2 separate regions of the Homo sapiens genome follow, and region 1 is linked to region 2. Evidence: promoter capture Hi-C in human tissues and cell types (Jung and others, 2019). All regions are on one chromosome and are shown on one strand. The core of a region is centred on a gene start or on the middle of the fragment in contact, and the rest is flanking DNA. Distances in the headings are between cores, read along the strand shown. Region 1 has its middle 5.0 kb from the start of STMN2. Region 2 holds the start of MRPS28 (mitochondrial ribosomal protein S28).

Region 1 (4,186 bases), core at 1,317-3,816, 420 kb before region 2:
AGTCAATACAGTAACCAATACCTGGATAAACACTTCAGGAAAAGTGGAACCATTAATTTGATTTTTTTAAAAAAAGCATAAATAAGGTTGCCCAAACTGATCCATGGGACTTGTTCTCCTAGTTGGTTATAGGCCATTTCAAAACTAAATACAAGATGGGATTTCAAACGTTTCTTTTGACATTTATAATGGTCCTCATTTTCTTCTGAATGAGATGCAATTACTTTAAAAATTACTATAGTGCCATTATGCTAGGCTGACACTCAGCTATATCTGAATCCATATAGGCTGCTATGACAAAAATACCACAAACTCTTTAGCTTTTAGACAACAGAAATTTATTTCTCACAGTTCCGAAGGCTAAGAACTCCAAGATCAAGGTGCTGGCAGATTTGATTGCTGGCGAGGGCTCGTCTTCTGGCTCATACATGGCACCTTCTAGCTGTATCCTCACTTGTGATAGGAGCCAAGGCAGCTCTCTGGGGTCTTTTGTATAAGGTCACTAATCCCACTCATAAGTCACCCCCGCTCACGACTTTATCATCTCCCAAAGGTGCCACCTCCTAGTACCATCACCTTGGAGGTTAGGATTTCAGCATATGAATTTGAGTGGGGACATAAATATTCAGTTCATTACAATTCTGCATCAAAAAGACTGAAGCTATCACAGCTCACTCAGCAGACTTTGGCTAAAAGAGGAACAACTTTACTGTAGTAGAGAAATGGTGCACTCCTAGCTTAACTAAGGTGAAGGGCTCAGCAGAAGTCCAGCAGAGTTCAACAGCAGCCACACCTAGAAATAAAACATCACTTTCTGTCACTTTTAGTAACAAGATTTCTCCAAAGCCTCATAAATAAAGTTGCCTTCTGTGATAACTGCCAGTCTGCTTTGGGGAAAATGCTCTCCCTGATAGGTTTTAATTAATCAGCTTGCCCATAGACAAAAAACAATATTTCACTGTTCCTCAGGCTGCTGTAGGTTTTGTTTTTATAAATCCCCCCTTGTCTGGTTTCATGACTGATCTCCAGCACATGTGAATAGATATCAGCCATGCTTTTAATTAAACTGAGTTATTCTTTGGTGAGATGGTCCTGAATTTAATCAAGCTTCAAAATTGACTTTCATTTACAGAGGACAGGAACAAGTTAAGTGACCACATTGGAAGCAAAGAGTCACATCCAAAATGTAAGAAAGTTCATAGGACAATTGACCCAGTTTCTACAAAAAGCCAATGGTGGGAATTTTAAAAATGAAGGGAGGATTGTACCAGATTAAAAGAGATTTGAGAAACATAAAAGTGAATAGAATATGCGGACCATATTTGGGTCCTGTTTTAAACAAAGCAACAGTATTCTTGAGACAATCATGAAAATGTGATTATAATTGTTAAGTATTTTAACAGAATTGTATTTATGTAAGAAAGGTTCATGTTTTATAGAGATACATACTTAACTACAAAGAGTGAATTTAAATGATTGTCGTGACTTCCTTTTAAAGTTTTCAGCAAAGATGAAAAAGGAAAAAGAAACAGAAGCAATAAAGTTTTGGTAATTTCTTAACTTGACTAATACAAGTTCATTATTTGCTTTCTTGTGTCCATTTGAAATAGTTTATGACAAAAATATAAGTACAATATTTTTATATTTTGATGTAAATATTCAAGCTATTGAAATCCTCTTTCCAAAAGAGGACGTTTCCTGCGCATTCTAAATAAACCCAAATAACACATCTGCAAATCTCTGGGCAATTTCTTTTCTGCCTCAAAAGGCAGCATTTGCCGCCTAACTGCACATTGCTCTGTTTTTGCTGAACTGAACTAAAAAGATAGGTGTAGTTCAGGAAGTGATCAAACCAAAAACAGAAAAATCCATTAAATATGTGACGAGAGGAAAAAAAAGAGTGGAATGGGGTTTTGTTGTCTCTAGTTGAGTTCAAGTTTAATGTGTTTTTTTTCTTTTTTTTTTTTTTTTTTTTTTTTTTTGGAAACGGAGTCTCGCTCTGTCGCCCAGGCTGGAGTGCAGTGGCATGATCTCGGCTCACTGCAAGCTCCGCCTCCCGGGTTCAAGCCATTCTCCTGCCTCAGCTTCTGGAGTAGCTGGGACTACAGGAGCCTGCCACTATGCCCGGCTAATTTTTTCTATTTTTTAGTAGAGACGGGGTTTCACCATGTTAGCCAGGATGGTCTCGATCTCCTGACCTCGTGATCCACCCGCCTCGGCCTCCCAAAGTGCTGGGATTACAGGCGTGAGCCACCGCACCCGGCCGAGTTCAAGTCTAATGTTACTGTCAAAGTAAATATTTGATGAAATTGATTTTTAAAAATACTACCTACATCCGTTAATTCAATTCCATTTGATAACACAGCAGGATGTGGGTGGGGGAAGTTCAGAGGGTCAGAAAATTAGTTAATAAATGACTAATGAGAAAATCTCCCAGGAAGGCAGTATACTAAAATGCTTTTGCTTTTCTCTTCCCTAAATCCTCCTCCTCCTCTTTTCAGCTTGATTTAGAAAAATAAGGTTCTTAGGCAACTGTTATTGTATGTATAATGCAATGCTCACAGTAGGGGTTCTGTTTAAAAAATAAAATAAATTGAGGCTTGTGGGATAAACAGAGTGAGTCACACTTCTCCCAGATTTCTCTTCCAGGCACTTCAGTGTTGTCTCCACTGTTTGGTTTGTAAACTAAGATGCTGAGTGAAATCTCAAGGGGAACCAACTTCCCAGCTTCAATGGTGTCCAACTAATGTTCTCCCTGGACTCAAGCTGTAAATCAACTCATGGAGAGAAGGAAAAAGTTAGTTACAGTAATTGCTGCCAAGATAGCGAGTAGTTTTCAACATTATCAATTTAATGTAAAGATTCAGCTCATTAAATTTATATCAAGCCTTTCTTATGATTAGAACAAGTTTATTTCCAGAAAAGTTCAATTATAAAACTATCAATAGGATTTACTAATTTCAATAAGTCATTTTGCTTCAGGGTGAATTATACTAATTATTAATACATACAAGTCCCATTTGGACATAAAGAAAACCCTAGGTAGAGAAAAAATAATAATAATTAACTAATCATTGTTTATTTTTAAATAACTAATTTAAGAAGAAAACAATGAAGTGTGTTTGTTCCACACTTCAGAAATAACTCTAACACACTGGCAAATTCCTGAGCAATACAGAGCTCACTGCTAATAAAGAACACCAACTCTCCCTCCTTGGAATGACTTTCCTTTTGAATAAACCATATTAGACAGTTCTATTAAAGGACACATGATCCTTTTTATTTTTCATTAATCTATAAGAATTTAAACATGGCAAAATAATCAAAATGTTAAAAAGTCAACTATTTTTTCATGTGTGATTATTTTAGATGCATCTCTAAATATCTTCAGCTATAACTACTTTATATCCTAAATTTCTAAACATCTAAAAAAATTCAATGGATTTTATCTCTCACATTTCTTTTGTAATCACCTGAGGTCAGATCAAAACAATTAATTTGACCTTAACAATGTTTCTCTTATCTCACTAACTTTTAATAATTACTTTAGGATTCTTTCCCAGGCACTTGATTATGAATAGCAGAAAATCATATGACTGTGTTAGATGGCATCAGCTAATCCTCCAAAGCAACTGCTTCTCTCTGGTTTGGAAAGAAATCAACACCTCAGGCCTCCTCACAGAGATAATACACACTAGGCTATAACCCACAATAATTAAAATTTCTGTTAGCAAGTCTGTGATTTCCACAGCTCCAGCTTACTGCTGGCTGTTAAAGATAACAAAAATTAACAAGGGCCATCTACTATTGTGAGCTCTACTCATTTAGGTTCTTTGGGAATAGGGCAGGATATAAATAAATAAACACTGGTAAACAGCCTAATACCTGCTCCCAACACAAGCTAAGCAAAGGAGGTTAGAAGTGTCAATATGGTCTCACTGGATTCATCCATTTTGAATCATTTTCAACACTGTATTATTTATTATTTCACAAATTGTTTTTAACTGTCTACCACGTGAATCATGAAACCAACCACTAGGAAGGGTATAAAGATATACACTATTCATTCTCTACCTTTCAAAGGTTTAAATGTATTGGAAACACTAAATATAGTCATAGTACTTAAAATTACTATATATCCATGATGGCTTAGACAGTTCATACATGATAACCCTTCAGTCTACCC
Region 2 (4,555 bases), core at 1,421-3,920:
AGGAAGATAACTTGATCCACAGTGTGTGTAATGACCTGAACCAGGGAGCAACTGAAGTCAGTGGTATCAATTAAGAAGGAGTAAAGGGGTTCACGTAAACTTCAAATGCTTCAAAGCTAAGAACTTGCTGAACGGAGACTACAACACAGCCTCCTGATATCCTCCTCCCCAGGGAATTTTATTTCCATTAAACCAAGATGTCAAAGACTTGTGAATAAGAAATTGGTGAACTGTACATCACAACCAAACACATTTACCCATCATCTAGTAGAATAATGTTTTCTAAACTGTGTTAGACGGAGAACAACCACGCAGGGTGCAGAGATGCTGCTGAGCCTGAGCTGGACTGAGAAAATCTAACGGATGTGCTGGGACTGCCAGGAAACACCCCAGCCTCCTCCTGGAAAAACTGAACAGCCCAATTAGAACTGCCTTGGAAAGGAAAGGAAAGAGAAAAGGAAAGGAAAGGGAATTCTGGGGACTCTAAAACACCTTGGTTGTTTCCTTCATTAAATAAACAGTACATTTTTAGTTTCAAACACTTAACTTACTATACATGTGATGCTACAATTTTCACTCTTACCACAGTTAACTCAGCAATTGAGAATTATTTTGGGGGGTTTCCGAAGGGGCTTAGAATGTGGTATGAATGGGAGCGAAGCGTGAGTGAGAAATATTAGGTAAGAAATAGAAAAACTCCTTTCCTATACATATATTTGGAAGGGAGCACTGAACTCTATGTTTCCAACCTTACTGCACTTAACTCTTATGGCCTTACCTTAAGGATGGATCTAAAATCCATCCCTTAGGTGGCTTCAGGTCAATCATCGCTATTCTGCTAGTATTTTATGACTTCTCCATATATGGTAGAAAGAATAATGCCCCCTCCCCCTACAAAGACATCCACATCCTAATCTCTAGAATTTGTGAATATGTTACCTTCCGTGGCAAAGGAGAATTAACTTTGCAGGTGGAATTAAGATTGCTAATCAGCTGATCTTAAAATAGATTATCTAGGGAGGCCAATGTAATCACAGGGATCTCAAAAGCAGAAGACGGGCGGGGGGGGCGGGGCCGGGCGGGGTCAGCCAGGCCAGGTGGCTCACATCTGTCATCTGTAATCCCAGCACTTTGGGAGGCCAACGCAGGAGGATCACTTGAACCCAGGAGTTCAAGACCAGCCTGGGCAACATGGCAAAACCCCATCTCTACAAAAAAAAACAGAAAAAACAATTAGCCCAGAGTGGTGGTGCACACCTGCGGTCCCAGCTATGAAGCAGGAGGATCACTTGAGCCCAGGGGGTTTAGCAGTGAACTGAGATCATGCCACCACACTCCAGCGTGGGTGACAGAGCGAGACCCTGTCTCAAAAAACAACAAAACAAACAAAAAAATCCAAAAAACAAAAAAGTAGAAAACAGAGGCAGAAAAGACAGGCCAGGAAGAGATTCTCCTAGAAGCTACGGAAAAGAACACAACTTCACCAACACCTTGATTTTAGACCAGTGAGATCCCGTCTGACTTCTCACAACCCTAACAACAACACATTTCCTGTGTTTTACGCCACTAAATTTGTAGTAATTTGTTACAACAGAAAATAATAAACTAATATACCAGGCTTCTTCTAGTCCTTGGATTTCAGAAAAATTTTGACATCAGTAATTGCTACTAAAATGACCCTATAACCCAGGACACTGCCAGTCTTGTGAACTGTTTGGTACTACTCCCTAGGAAGAAAAATACAGAAATTGAGAGTTTATTTGTATATAATTCAATTTCATGTCTGCTGAGTTTAATTATTAAAAACTTAGGCTTGTAATTTTATTTCTTCCATTTCATTTATCTATAAATTTATGGTATTTTACAAAAGTACTGGCTGAGACAAACGGAGATTTTACTTTACTTTTTAAAAAAAGAAGACATTTACAAAAGAGAGGTGAAGCGCTGACAAGTTAAATCACTTGCCCAAGTTCAGAAAGTGATTCATCACCCAGTCATTAAATTAACAAATGTTTATGAAGGGCCTTCTACTCCAGACAGCAAGCTCCATGCTAGAGCTACTGTTCAGAACAAGACCCAGCAGAGCCCTGCCTCTCCGTGTGAGTCCCATTCTCCTTAGCGTCCCAGGAATCGCCCTAGATCGCCTCCCCAGCAGCGCTCCCCGCTGGTTACCTTCCCACCAGCATTCAATCCCAGGAAAACAAGCGCAGTGTGGACAGACCCGGCCCAGTACGCAAATGCCACACAAAAGGACAACGAAAGGAAGAAAAACACCAAGCACAGATTCTAGGGGCCGAGGGCTGAGCCACAACGCACCGCAACTCCGGAAAACTGGGCCCCGGACCTCAGCTCCCCTTCCTAAGCCAGGCTCCGCCCCTATTCCCGACCCCGCCCACCGCGTCGTTGGCGTAATTCCCGCGACTCCCTCTCACCCGCCCGGGCTCCACCTTCTGTAGGGGCTCCACCTTCTGTAGAAGCTCCGAGTGCCGCTCCAACGCGCTCGCGAAACCGCCTGCGCGCGTCTTAGGCTCCTTGGCATTGGAACTACCACTTTCGGATCCACTCTCAGTGCCTACACCCCGAAAGGGCCTGAAGAAGAGAAACACTCGCAGAAAATGGCTCTCGGCAGCCACAGCACGGGTCCGACACAGCGCCGCCATGACTTCTTTACCTCTGACCTTTGACCTCCCCTCCGCAAGCGCGCGGGTCACGGGGCGGAGCTATGAGAGGTCCGCCCCCCGGACGCAGAGCTCTGGAGGCCAACGAGGCGTGTCTTCCTTTCATCTGGGAGTGGCGTGGGGAAGAAGAGACTTAAGCTAAAATTGGTGGGCTAAATAGTTGGAAAGGGGCCTGGTTAAGTTTTGCGTTAGAAGTGCGTTTAACTTGCAGGAATTTCGCCTTCCTGGGCATCCGTTGGACCCCATTGTACTGTAAATTCTGCTAACGCGACGCTCGTTCTCCCGCCCTGCCGTCCCCCCTACATGGCCGCCAGCACTCGAGTTTGGGGTCTTCACTCAAATATGAGGGTCTCCTTGATTACCCTATTTAGAAGTGGAAGCCCAAATGCAGACTCTCTGGCACCTGTTTTTCTTAGTACCATGTAGCACTTTCTAATATGCCACATATTAATATTAAATATTTAATAATATTTAGTGTCTACTCCCAACTTTTTAAACTTTGAAAAGAGGAACTTTGCTGTAGGGTCCCTAGCACCAGGCACAGATTAGGGCTCACCCAACATTTGCCAAACCCTGCATCCAAGTTTGTCCTTTGCCACTTCTGCAGCCAGTCCACTCACGCCACAAAAATAGTTTTTCTGAAATGTTTTGACACCTCTAGATACCTATTATCTAACTTAGGAGTTCAGAAGTTTTGGAATGTCCCTAAGTATTGCACCGCCGTAGGCCCCCACCCTCACTCTGGATTTTCTTTCCCTTTTCTCCTGCAGTGTTAATTCCCAAAATTTACCCACCCTGTTCAAAACAGCCTAACATCATTCTTAAGTGTTTATTAATTAGTTGTCCGTCTATCTTTGACCCAGCAGTTTAATATTAATCCACAGTTAGTTTTATTTTGGGGGCACACACCTTTCCAGTTCATTTGCAAGTACTTCGAGAGAAAGAATTTTTATGATCACAGACCCTATTTTAAGAATGCCTTGACTATGGGTTTTAAGCTTTTCTGATGCTCTCTAATGGTACAGATAGTGTTAAGAACACGAAGTACACTGATCTCAGAATGGTGCACAATTGTATGAATCACATAAAATTATTACTAGCTAACTGTATGGTAGTCCTTACAAATTCATTAAATTCTCCAGGTGAGTTCTCCCTCTTGGCAGTTAAAACTGTTTATCTCCCGAGACTATTAATGGACTCTTGCCTAGAACATTATTTTCTACGGATAGTGCTACTTCCACTTTTTTTCAGGAGAAAGTGTGGTAAATTGTAAAGAGCATGGCCAGTGGTCTTCAAGAACCCTCAGTCTGACTGGGCAGGGTGGCTTACACTTGTAATCCCAGCACTTTGTGAGGTTGAGGAGGGAGGATTGCTTGAGATGAGGAGTCCGAGACCAGCTTGGGCCATAGCAAGAACCAGTCTCTACCAAAAAATAGAAAAATCAGCCTGGGGCAGTGGTGCATGCCTGTAGTCCCGGCTACTTGGGAGGCTGATGGAGGAGGATCACTTGAGCCCAGGAGTTTGAGGCTGCAGTGAGCTATGTTCCTGCCACTTCACTCCAGCATGGGTGAAAAGTGCAAAACTCAAGTATCCGTAAAAACACACCCCTGGCGTGGTGGCTCACACCTGTAATCCCAGCACTTTGGGAGGCCAAGGAGGGCAGATCACCTGAAGTCAGGAGTTCGAGATCAGCCTGGCCAACATGGTGAAACCCTGTCTCTACTAAAAATACAAAAATTAGCTGGGCGTGATGACACATGGCTGTAATCCCATCCACTCAGGAGGCTGAGGCAGGAGAATCACTTGAACCCAGGAGGTGGAGGTTGCAGTGAGCCAAGATCACACCACTGTTCTCCAGCCTGGGTGACAGAGCGAGA

Evidence for each region. The method cuts DNA at HindIII sites, captures the fragments that hold promoters and counts their contacts. A contact is called where the count stands out against the background at its distance.
Region 1: a fragment that was not itself captured here is called in contact with the fragment with the promoter of MRPS28 in region 2 in 1 of the 25 tissues and cell types used here (lymphoblastoid cells).

What each region holds. Positions count from the first base shown.
Region 1 is chr8:79,604,064-79,608,249 of GRCh38, forward strand. No RefSeq gene overlaps it. Among named protein-coding and RNA genes, the nearest start is that of STMN2, 5.0 kb to the right of the region's middle. The HindIII fragment of the contact is 6,050 bases long and covers 1-4,186 here.
Region 2 is chr8:80,027,589-80,032,143 of GRCh38, forward strand. It overlaps MRPS28 (mitochondrial ribosomal protein S28), which reads right to left and starts at 2,671. Exons shown (of 3, transcript NM_014018.3): 1 at 2,448-2,671. The coding sequence starts at 2,660. All of the region lies in intron 5 of TPD52-MRPS28 (TPD52-MRPS28 readthrough), which reads right to left. It also overlaps a transcript of TPD52 not described here. RefSeq lists an enhancer at 2,394-2,823. The HindIII fragment of the contact is 9,025 bases long and covers 1-4,555 here.